Linked DNA regions of Homo sapiens: region 1 is linked to region 2. Evidence: promoter capture Hi-C in 16 types of primary human blood cells and fetal thymus (Javierre and others, 2016). All regions are on one chromosome and are shown on one strand. The core of a region is centred on a gene start or on the middle of the fragment in contact, and the rest is flanking DNA. Distances in the headings are between cores, read along the strand shown. Region 1 holds the start of LOC124902109 (a long non-coding RNA gene). Region 2 holds the start of DOCK8 (dedicator of cytokinesis 8).

Evidence for each region. Contacts are between HindIII fragments. The CHiCAGO score rates a contact against its expected background, and 5 or more counts as called.
Region 1: a contact is called between a fragment that was not itself captured here and the fragment with the promoter of DOCK8 in region 2, in 1 of 17 cell types (M0 macrophages). The highest score is 5.7, in M0 macrophages.

What each region holds. Positions count from the first base shown.
Region 1 is chr9:759,863-764,485 of GRCh38, forward strand. LOC124902109 (a long non-coding RNA gene) reads right to left here and starts at 1,519. Exons shown (of 4, transcript XR_007061394.1): 1 at 1,437-1,519. RefSeq lists a silencer at 1,567-1,861. The HindIII fragment of the contact is 520 bases long and covers 2,465-2,984 here.
Region 2 is chr9:212,388-216,114 of GRCh38, forward strand. DOCK8 (dedicator of cytokinesis 8) reads left to right here and starts at 2,478. Exons shown (of 48, transcript NM_203447.4): 1 at 2,478-2,642. The coding sequence starts at 2,590. It overlaps DOCK8-AS1 (DOCK8 antisense RNA 1), which reads right to left and starts at 3,363. Exons shown (of 1, transcript NR_160804.1): 1 at 1,070-3,363. RefSeq lists silencers at 2,233-2,482, 2,493-2,542, 2,593-2,642, 2,813-2,952. The HindIII fragment of the contact is 3,855 bases long and covers 734-3,727 here.

The DNA.
Region 1 (4,623 bases), core at 1,475-3,974, 550 kb after region 2:
ATTCCAAAGGCAAGACTGCAAGTTATACCTGCCTTTACACAAACATCGACGGTCCCAAAATTCTGCATGGGGCTTGTGAGACAGTCTCTTCCTCTGACTATGACAATCTAGGAACAACAGGACAAAAAACAATTCTTCAGGCCCAGAACTGGTTCCCTGACACATTCTAGACCCTGCTTAAGGACACAGAAGTCTGATTCTGGAGATGCCCTTGCTCTTGAAGACCCAACTGTGCAGTGTTCTGCGTGCCTGAGTCCCACGCCCCAGCCTACCATGGCCACCATGGCGGGTTTGGCCAGTACTCTACAAAGCCCAGAAGCATCAGGCACCTGAGAACCATGCCCTTGTTACATTTAAGTCATGTGACTCACTGACTAGGAAGACAGAAACTTCTAGAAAGAAAGCCAAAGAGAATCCACAGCTGCTTTCTGCAAGCCAGATTTACTTGAAAATGCAAGTGATGAGGCTGTCACTCCCACCCTGAGGATGAGGGGAAGGAGGAGGGAGGCTTTGCTGTCTCCCAGAAAATCAACAAGAACACAGTTTCCAGGCGCTGTGGAGAAAATGTATTATTCGGAAGTCTGAGCTCCAAGAGACTCCTTGTCCTTGCAGTGGGGCCATCTGTGTTCTCTAGGTTGTGGTTTTCGCCGGCAAGTCTAAACACTTCCATTGATCGGTCAACAAGAACAGAACTTATTTACCTGCCACAGTACCTCGGGCTGTAGCTCTGATAAGGGCCCCTCAAGGTGCCCTTCCCAAGCGACCAGCCTGCTTGCTTCTGCTATTTCCTTTTTATTCAGGAATGCCTCATGCTACTAAAATAGCAGACAAGGTTTAAATACACTGCTACTTTGTGTGTCTAGCCATTTTAAAAAATTATTTTCAACCTTACCACCAGTATTAACATCTCCTACATCAGAAGAAAGGTGCCACAGGAATCAGGGTGCTACACAGCATAGGGTTTGGGGGACACACTCCTGTGATACTCCATTGTATTAGGGCTCTCCAGAGGAGCAGAACCAATAGGATATATATAGATGTATAGAAAGTGATCGACTACAAGGGACTGGCATATGCAATTACTGAGGCCAGGAAGTCCTGTGGTCTGCCATCTGTGAGGTGGAGGCCCAGGAAAGCCAGGGGTGTGGCTCCAGCCCAGACCCAAAGGCCTAAGAACCAGGGAAGCCAGTGTCTGAGGGCAGGAGAGGATGGAGGTCCCAGCTCAAGCAGAACGGGAACTCTATCTTCCTACACGTTGTTGTCCTATTCAAGCCCTCCGTAGACTGAATGGTACCCACCCGCAGTGGTGAGGAAAGCCTTCTTTACTCGGTCACCAATTCAAATGCTCATCCCTTTCAGAGACACCCACGCAGAGGTGTGCCAGCTTTCTGGGCATCCCTTGACAGTCAAATTGACACATAAAAGAACCATTATACCTTCTTGTCCAGAAGTCTTTGCAGATAACCGTCCATGAATTCTAATGAAGCCTGGGAACCTATCCAGAGCTGGGGCAAGAAAGGATCCATGCAAGTAGGAAACTAGCAAAACCTGCAGGCTCCAGCATCCTGCCAGTCATCTGCAGACCCCAGAGGGGTCCACAAGCAAGTGCTCAACAACACCGTCCTAGTTACATTCGGGTCATGTGGCTTCTTGACCAGGAAGAGAGAAACCTCTCAAACAAAAGCTAAAGAGAATCCACAGCTGCCTTCTCCAAACCTGTTACAGCTGGAAAAGCAAGTGATGAGGAAATCACATGAGCTCATGCTTGTGAAGCACTCTGTACAAACAGGCACTGTGGAAGCATTCACTATTTTGTTAACGATAAGGTCATTTTTTTCCTCGAGGTCAGGTTGTTCATTCCAGTTTCACTCACTGGCATCTCTCCCCAGAGCACACAGGCACTCACACAAAAATAACTGTCTTCCTAGTTATCCCACAGGTATGGACAATCGCTGGTACGACCATTGGATTGTCCACTGCCTTGCTGAGTTCCAGCAGGCTGCTCTGATGGGGAACAAAAAAAAAAAGCAACCTGTGGGCAGCGAGGAGGTTTTTCTAGGGAATCTGCGTAGACTGTCTTTGTCAAATGTGGGAAGGAAAGGGGTCCTCCCAGGAATTAGGATCTGCTGCGAGGTTGTGCCAGGGCATCCACGCCTGCGTTTCTCTCAGTGTTGGCCTCGCTGATCCCACCATCCCTCCAGGTGCGCTGTAGAACTTCCAAGACTCATTGCCATGAATATGTTAGCTAGGTGGTCGTCAAGTCTACAGGTTCTTCCTCCCCACAGCTCTTGGGTCCACCCTCTTCCACTGCTGCTAACACAGTTCAGGGCACCATCATTTCTTCTGGACTGCTGCAAGGTCATCAGAACTGGTCTCCCCAATGTCAGCCCTGCCGCTTTCAGTACAGTCATGTTATTCCCTGTTGAAAGCCACTCAATGGCTTCAGCTCGGTCTGGCATGATGAAGCTTCCTCCGTAATCTGGGTTCAGCTCCATCACACTCCTCCCACACCTCCAACTGAGCTAAACCAAAATGCCACAGGAGTTCCTGACCTTAAGCCCTTGTGTCACTCACTTTATTATTCATAGTTTGTCCCCAGTGTTGCAACCAAGAGCTGAGGCTCCTTGGGCTCTCTCATTTTTGAACATCAAATGCAGGTCTCCTTTGCCATGCAATGTGACTGTCTGATTCACAAGAGCATGGCCCTGCAAGTGTATGCCAGGTGGCCCTACCCACATCAGCAGATACATTGGCAGACAATCAGGATGGATCAGGACAATCTCTCTGAATACATCCATCCATTTGGAAGGAAGGCAATCAAGATGGAGATTAAAACCAGCTTAACATGGAACTAGAGAGGCAAAACAGCCTCCCTTGTGAGGTTCTGAGTTGTAGAGTAGGAAGGTGGCATGTCCTTGCCTCACTACCCCTTCGTTCCCATTCGGTGGCTGACAGCTTCTGTTTCTCATTTCTTATTAGACTAAAGCTTGACTCTTGCTCTGCTGTTTCTTTTCATTGATGAAGCTTAAATAACCAGTAATCACAGCATGCAAAATAGTGTGCACCAGACTTCATATAGTTAAAGTGAGAGTCTTCATTTTTGAAAATATGCTCCAGGCAACTTTGGAAAAAGCAGAATTACTTCCTCTTGTAGGCCACTGGACAGACCCTACTTCGTCCTAAAGTAAGGTGAAGGCCAAAAGACGGGCTTCCAGGGCCAACTACACTACACCTACCTTTTGCCTTAACTTTATTCACTTGTGGGCAACATCAAAAGATGAGCCTATTTTGGGGCCGGCCGCAGTGGCTCACGCCTGTAATCCCAGCACTTTGGAAGGCCGAGGCGGGTGGATCACGAGGTCAGGAGATCGAGACCATCCCGGCTAACACGGTGAAACCCCATCTCTACTAAAAATACAAAAAATTAGCCGGGCGTGGTGGCTCACGCTTGTAGTCCCAGCTACTCGGGAGGCTGAGGAAGGAGAATGGCGTGAACCCAGGAAGCGGAGCTTGCAGGGAGCCGAGATTGCACCAGCGCACTCCAGCTTGGGCGACAGAGCGATACCCCGTCTCAAAAATAAATAAATAAAAAATAAAAAATAAAAATGGAAAGAGAACTACTTCTTTCAAAAACTAGGTGGAGGTCGGACACAGTGGCTCACGCCCGTAATCATAGCACTTTGGGAGGCCAAGGCAGGCGGATCACTCGAGATCAGGAGTTCGAGACCAGCCTGGCCAACATGGCGAAACTCCCTCTCTACTGAAAATACAAAAAAAATGAGCTGGGCATGGTGGTGGGCGCCTGTAATCCCAGCTGTTCCGGAATCTGAGGCAGGAGAATCGCGTGAGCTGAGGAGGCAGAGGTTGCAGTAAGTGGAGAGGGCACCACTGCACTCCAGCCTGGGCGACAGAGTAAAATAAAAGTAATTTTAAAAACTAAGTGGAAATTAAATGAAATTTAATATTAAATGTTTCCAAATAAAACATTATAATTTATTAAAATCCTTTTTAAAAAACTTTAAAAATCTTTTTGAAAAAAACTTTCTAAAAAGCAATTTAAAGGGAATCTTTGCCTTTTACAGTATTGAGTCCACTGCTCTTTTCCTTTCCTCTTTCGTTCTTTAATTCCTTCATGTCTCGCAATAAAGGAAGAAACACGTACAGTTTGGGCATATATCTAGTTGCACATATCCTGGCCCTAGTGTAAAAGACCACAGGGTTTACAGGAGCGCGTAGCCTTTTCTTAATTTAAAAGAATACAGGACGCAGGAGAGAACCACACCCCGCAGACCCAGGCGTAGCGAGTTGTCTGCCCTGTGGCACTCTGTCACCTAGTGTCTGAATCTGCATATTGCACTCTCCTCGATATCCCTTGGTCTGCGAAGGATGAAGTTCCTTCCACCATACGGCCACCGCCATCACCATCACCTTACGACCAACCCCAATGCTCTGCAATGGAGAACAAGCGCCACCATGTTGCAGGGTTCCAGAAAGCAGCAGCTCTGGAACCAGACAGACCTAACTTAGACTCCTAGCTTCCCGTTTACCAGCCGAGACTTTGAGCAAGGGACTTTACCTTTTTAAGCCCTAGTTTCTACATCTATAGAATATGGATGGTAAAAA
Region 2 (3,727 bases), core at 1,228-3,727:
GATACGGAGAAAGAGGAAGGCCAAGAGAGACCATCAGATGCGGAAAGAAGGAGGCCTCCCAGAGTTCTCTCTGGACAGAGGGCTGATGGAAAACGAAAGAGGCAGTGAGAATAAGGAAGAAAGGCACTTGGATGGCTATTTGCCAGCAATATGTGAATGTATCTAACAGCAGATCAAACTTGAAAACAGGCATTTGACTAAATTAATGGATAACACATTCATGGTGAATTGTTAAAAGAGTGTTAAGGAAATCTGGAGACAATTCTAACCATCAAGAAATTGACAGCACAGAGGATAATAATGCTGGCCTAACCTTCATGGTTAGGTACCAAATACTAAATCTATTGCAGTATGATCTGAGGCAAGATGGAAGGTTTTATGATTCCCACATTCACCCAAAAAGTTTCCTTGATTGCAAATGCTGAAAATCTGAGATGCTTTCATTACATTTTATTTATGTTTGTGTGAAACCAGTATATTTTTGTTCTATATGAAAATGTATGTCATAAACATTCAGAAATTCAGAGGAGTTCATCCGAAAGGCTGACATGGTACACCGTGGACCGAAGCCTCTGGGGCAAAATGTTTTCTATGTATCATTCGTTGAGTCTCAGTTTGAAGAAGTACTTACACATTTGTTCTCTTTGTATTTTGCTATCCAAATGTTTGCTCATAAATTCCAATGTAGTAAATAAGGACAGTTTTGAAAGTCAGAAACTCTAAATTTCAAAAAAGCTTTATTTTTCTTTGGGTTTGTTTTCGTATGTAGTCTATTGTAGTCTATGCAGTGAACTTTGTCTTATATGCTTAAAAGGGCACTGATATTTGGTGGGCATTGGGGGGCGGGGAGTTACCTAACCAGTACTGAAAAGTTACTAAACTACCTGACACAGCTGAAACCAGGAAGGAAGGCTGTATCAGGAAGAGACTGAATATAGTCCTTAGGTGGATTTTAGTATTAGGTGACAAATTAGGTTGTATTGGACTGGCACTGTCCAATAGGAATATAATGAGGCTCACAAATGTGAGCCACATGTGTAATTTTACATTTTTAAAAATGCAAACCACATTTTTAAAAGGGGAAAACAAACAGGTGAAATTAACTTTAATAATATATTTTTTATATCCAAAGTATCATTTAACATGCAATCAACATGAAAATCATTAACAAGACATTTTACACGATGTTTTCTGCGCTGTCTTTAAATTCCAGTGTACATTTTACACATCCAGCAGTGGGCAATTCAGACTAACCATAATGCCGAGTGGTCAATAGCCACATGTGGCTAGTGGCTATCATATTAAATAGTGCAGGTTTGAACCAAAAATACTTCGCTTTGGTTGTTTTTTTTTTTTTCTTTTAGACGGAGACTTGCTCTGTCGCCAGGCTGGAGTGCAGTGGCAGATCTCGGTTCACTGCAAGCTCCGCCTCCCGGGTTCAAGTGATTCCCCTGCCTCAGCCTCCCAAGTAGCTGGGACTAAGGCGTGCGCCACCACGCCCGGCTAATTTTTTGTATTTTAGTAGAGACGGGGTTTCACCACGTTGGCCAGGATGGTCTCGATCTCCTGACCTCGTGATGCGCCCGCCTCGGCCTCCCAAAGTGCTGGGATCACAGGCGTGAGCCACCGCGCCCGGCCTGCTTTGGTATTTTTTAAGAGCAAGTTGGTAAATGGAGGCATTATATGGAGAGTGCTCGAGTATATATAGCACAGGTTAGAGCAGCACGCCGGCACCTTGAAGCGAACACGGGCTCCTCCACTCCCGTCAACACTGGGACTTTTCTGTTTTTATCTTGAGTTTGAGGCCGGGCTTCTTAGCAGACCTCAGTCTGAAACTGAAATAAACCTGGACGCAGCGTACCCTTGAATCGCAAGAACGCCGCCTTCAGTGTTTCTCCGGAGAAAAGCATTCACGCCAGGTTGTGACGAAAACATTTTTTGAGAACTCATAATGTTTATTCCTTGGATGAATCCATTATATTTATTTAGTGTCTCAGGAAGGATGATGGGCATATTGCTTGCAAAAGTTGATTTGAATCCTGATAGATTCCACTAACTTTTTTGTCTTTTTTTTTGGCTGCCTTCTTCGAGAATGGTGTCAACCCTTAATAACACCTAGCCTTACGAATCCCTGGGGTGATTCCCGACCTCGCCAGCTTTGTGGGGCTCCCCCGACTTGCCTACATTCCCTGGCAGCCTCGCAGCTTCGGGCAGATGGAGCTTCCGGCCTGCGCGCAGTGGTCGCCTGTCGTCCGCCCGCGCTCCCTTCGGCCGGAGGTCGGCGGCCCCGGGCAGAGCGCGCCGTCTGCCCCAGTATCGGGAGGCCAGTTCCGCGCTGGGCCCACGCCCTCCTCGCCCGCCGCTGCCTGCGCGCCAGGCCGGGTGGCGGAGCCGGCCGTCGCTGCTCCGAGCTCGGACCCTCCCCCGGGGTGATTTCGGCTTAGAAGGTGGAAATGCGGAAGTTTCCAGCGCCGACCGACAGACGAGGTTTGCGCTTGGCTGGGCATGTTCCGCGGCTACTCTGCGGCGCGCCAGGCCCCCGCTTTCCGCACCCCGCGACCCTAGAAGCCACCGAACCGCCGGCGGGCCATGGCCACTCTGCCGAGCGCAGAGCGCCGCGCGTTCGCGCTCAAGATCAACAGGTAAGACGCCCCCCGCGGCGCGCAGGTTGCGGCCGGACAGCCCAGCGCTGGTGTGAAGCGGAGCTTCGCTGCAGGGGCCGAGGCCGGACGAGTCCATTCGCGTCCGCGGCGGGGCGCGCCTGAGACCTGGGGCGCCCGGTTCCCGAGGCTGCGGCGGTGGAGCCGCTGGACGCGCGGCGGCTCCTGCGCTGGGCCCGGCGAGGTCCTCCCCAAGAATCTCGGTGCTCCTGGATGTCCTCAGCCGCCGGGGATCCCTTCCCCGAACAACCTCGCCCGCTCCGCCCTCCAGGTTCTTACAGGTGGCCGGGTCCCAGAAGGGTGATAGGCGCCTGGGTAACCGTGTTGGGCGCGCCACGGAGTGTCTCATAAACGGCTCCTTCCTTTGAGGCAAGTCTGAGCGCGGGGGGAAGAAGTGAAGTGGCTGAAATTAGAGTTGCGTTTGAGGCAGGCTGCAAGCCTTCTGTCGTCCTGAGCAAGGCTCCGTCCTCGCCTGCTTCATTATTCCAGAAAGAGCTTGGCTCCTGGTGGCATCGCTATTTTTATACCCTGGTCCAAAGGAGCCATGAAGTGGAAAAAGTGATTTTTTAAAAAATCTACACTTAAATAAACCAAAAGAAATGGCCTGTGGCTGACATTTTGAGATTTACAGAACTCCAGCAAAAAGCTAAGGACTGGGGGATCCCAACTCACCATCCAATTCCTAATCAAAGTTGCACAAACTAAATATGTAAGCACATTTACTGCTCAAAGTTCTCAGTAAAGGTGCTTTAACTGCAGTTTTTCCTCCACTAAAAACTGCTGACAAGTAATTGGGACATTTTTGTCTTGCCCTGAGAAAGCTAGACTGTCTAGTTAAAAGATAATAGGAAACTCATTCTAAAGTGTCAACTTATTCTATTGCCCACAGGGCTGTCCGATTTGTTAATCTTCACTTAGCTGAGCCTGTGAAAGGTGGATTCCACCGTAGGTTCATCTTTGTGCTGTTAGTGTGTGAAGAGGTTTGAACAAGGAATTAAAAGCCTAGAAAAACAAGGCGATAAGGTCTTCTAGAGGGCATATCGAGCTTTATTGACGATTTTATTTCC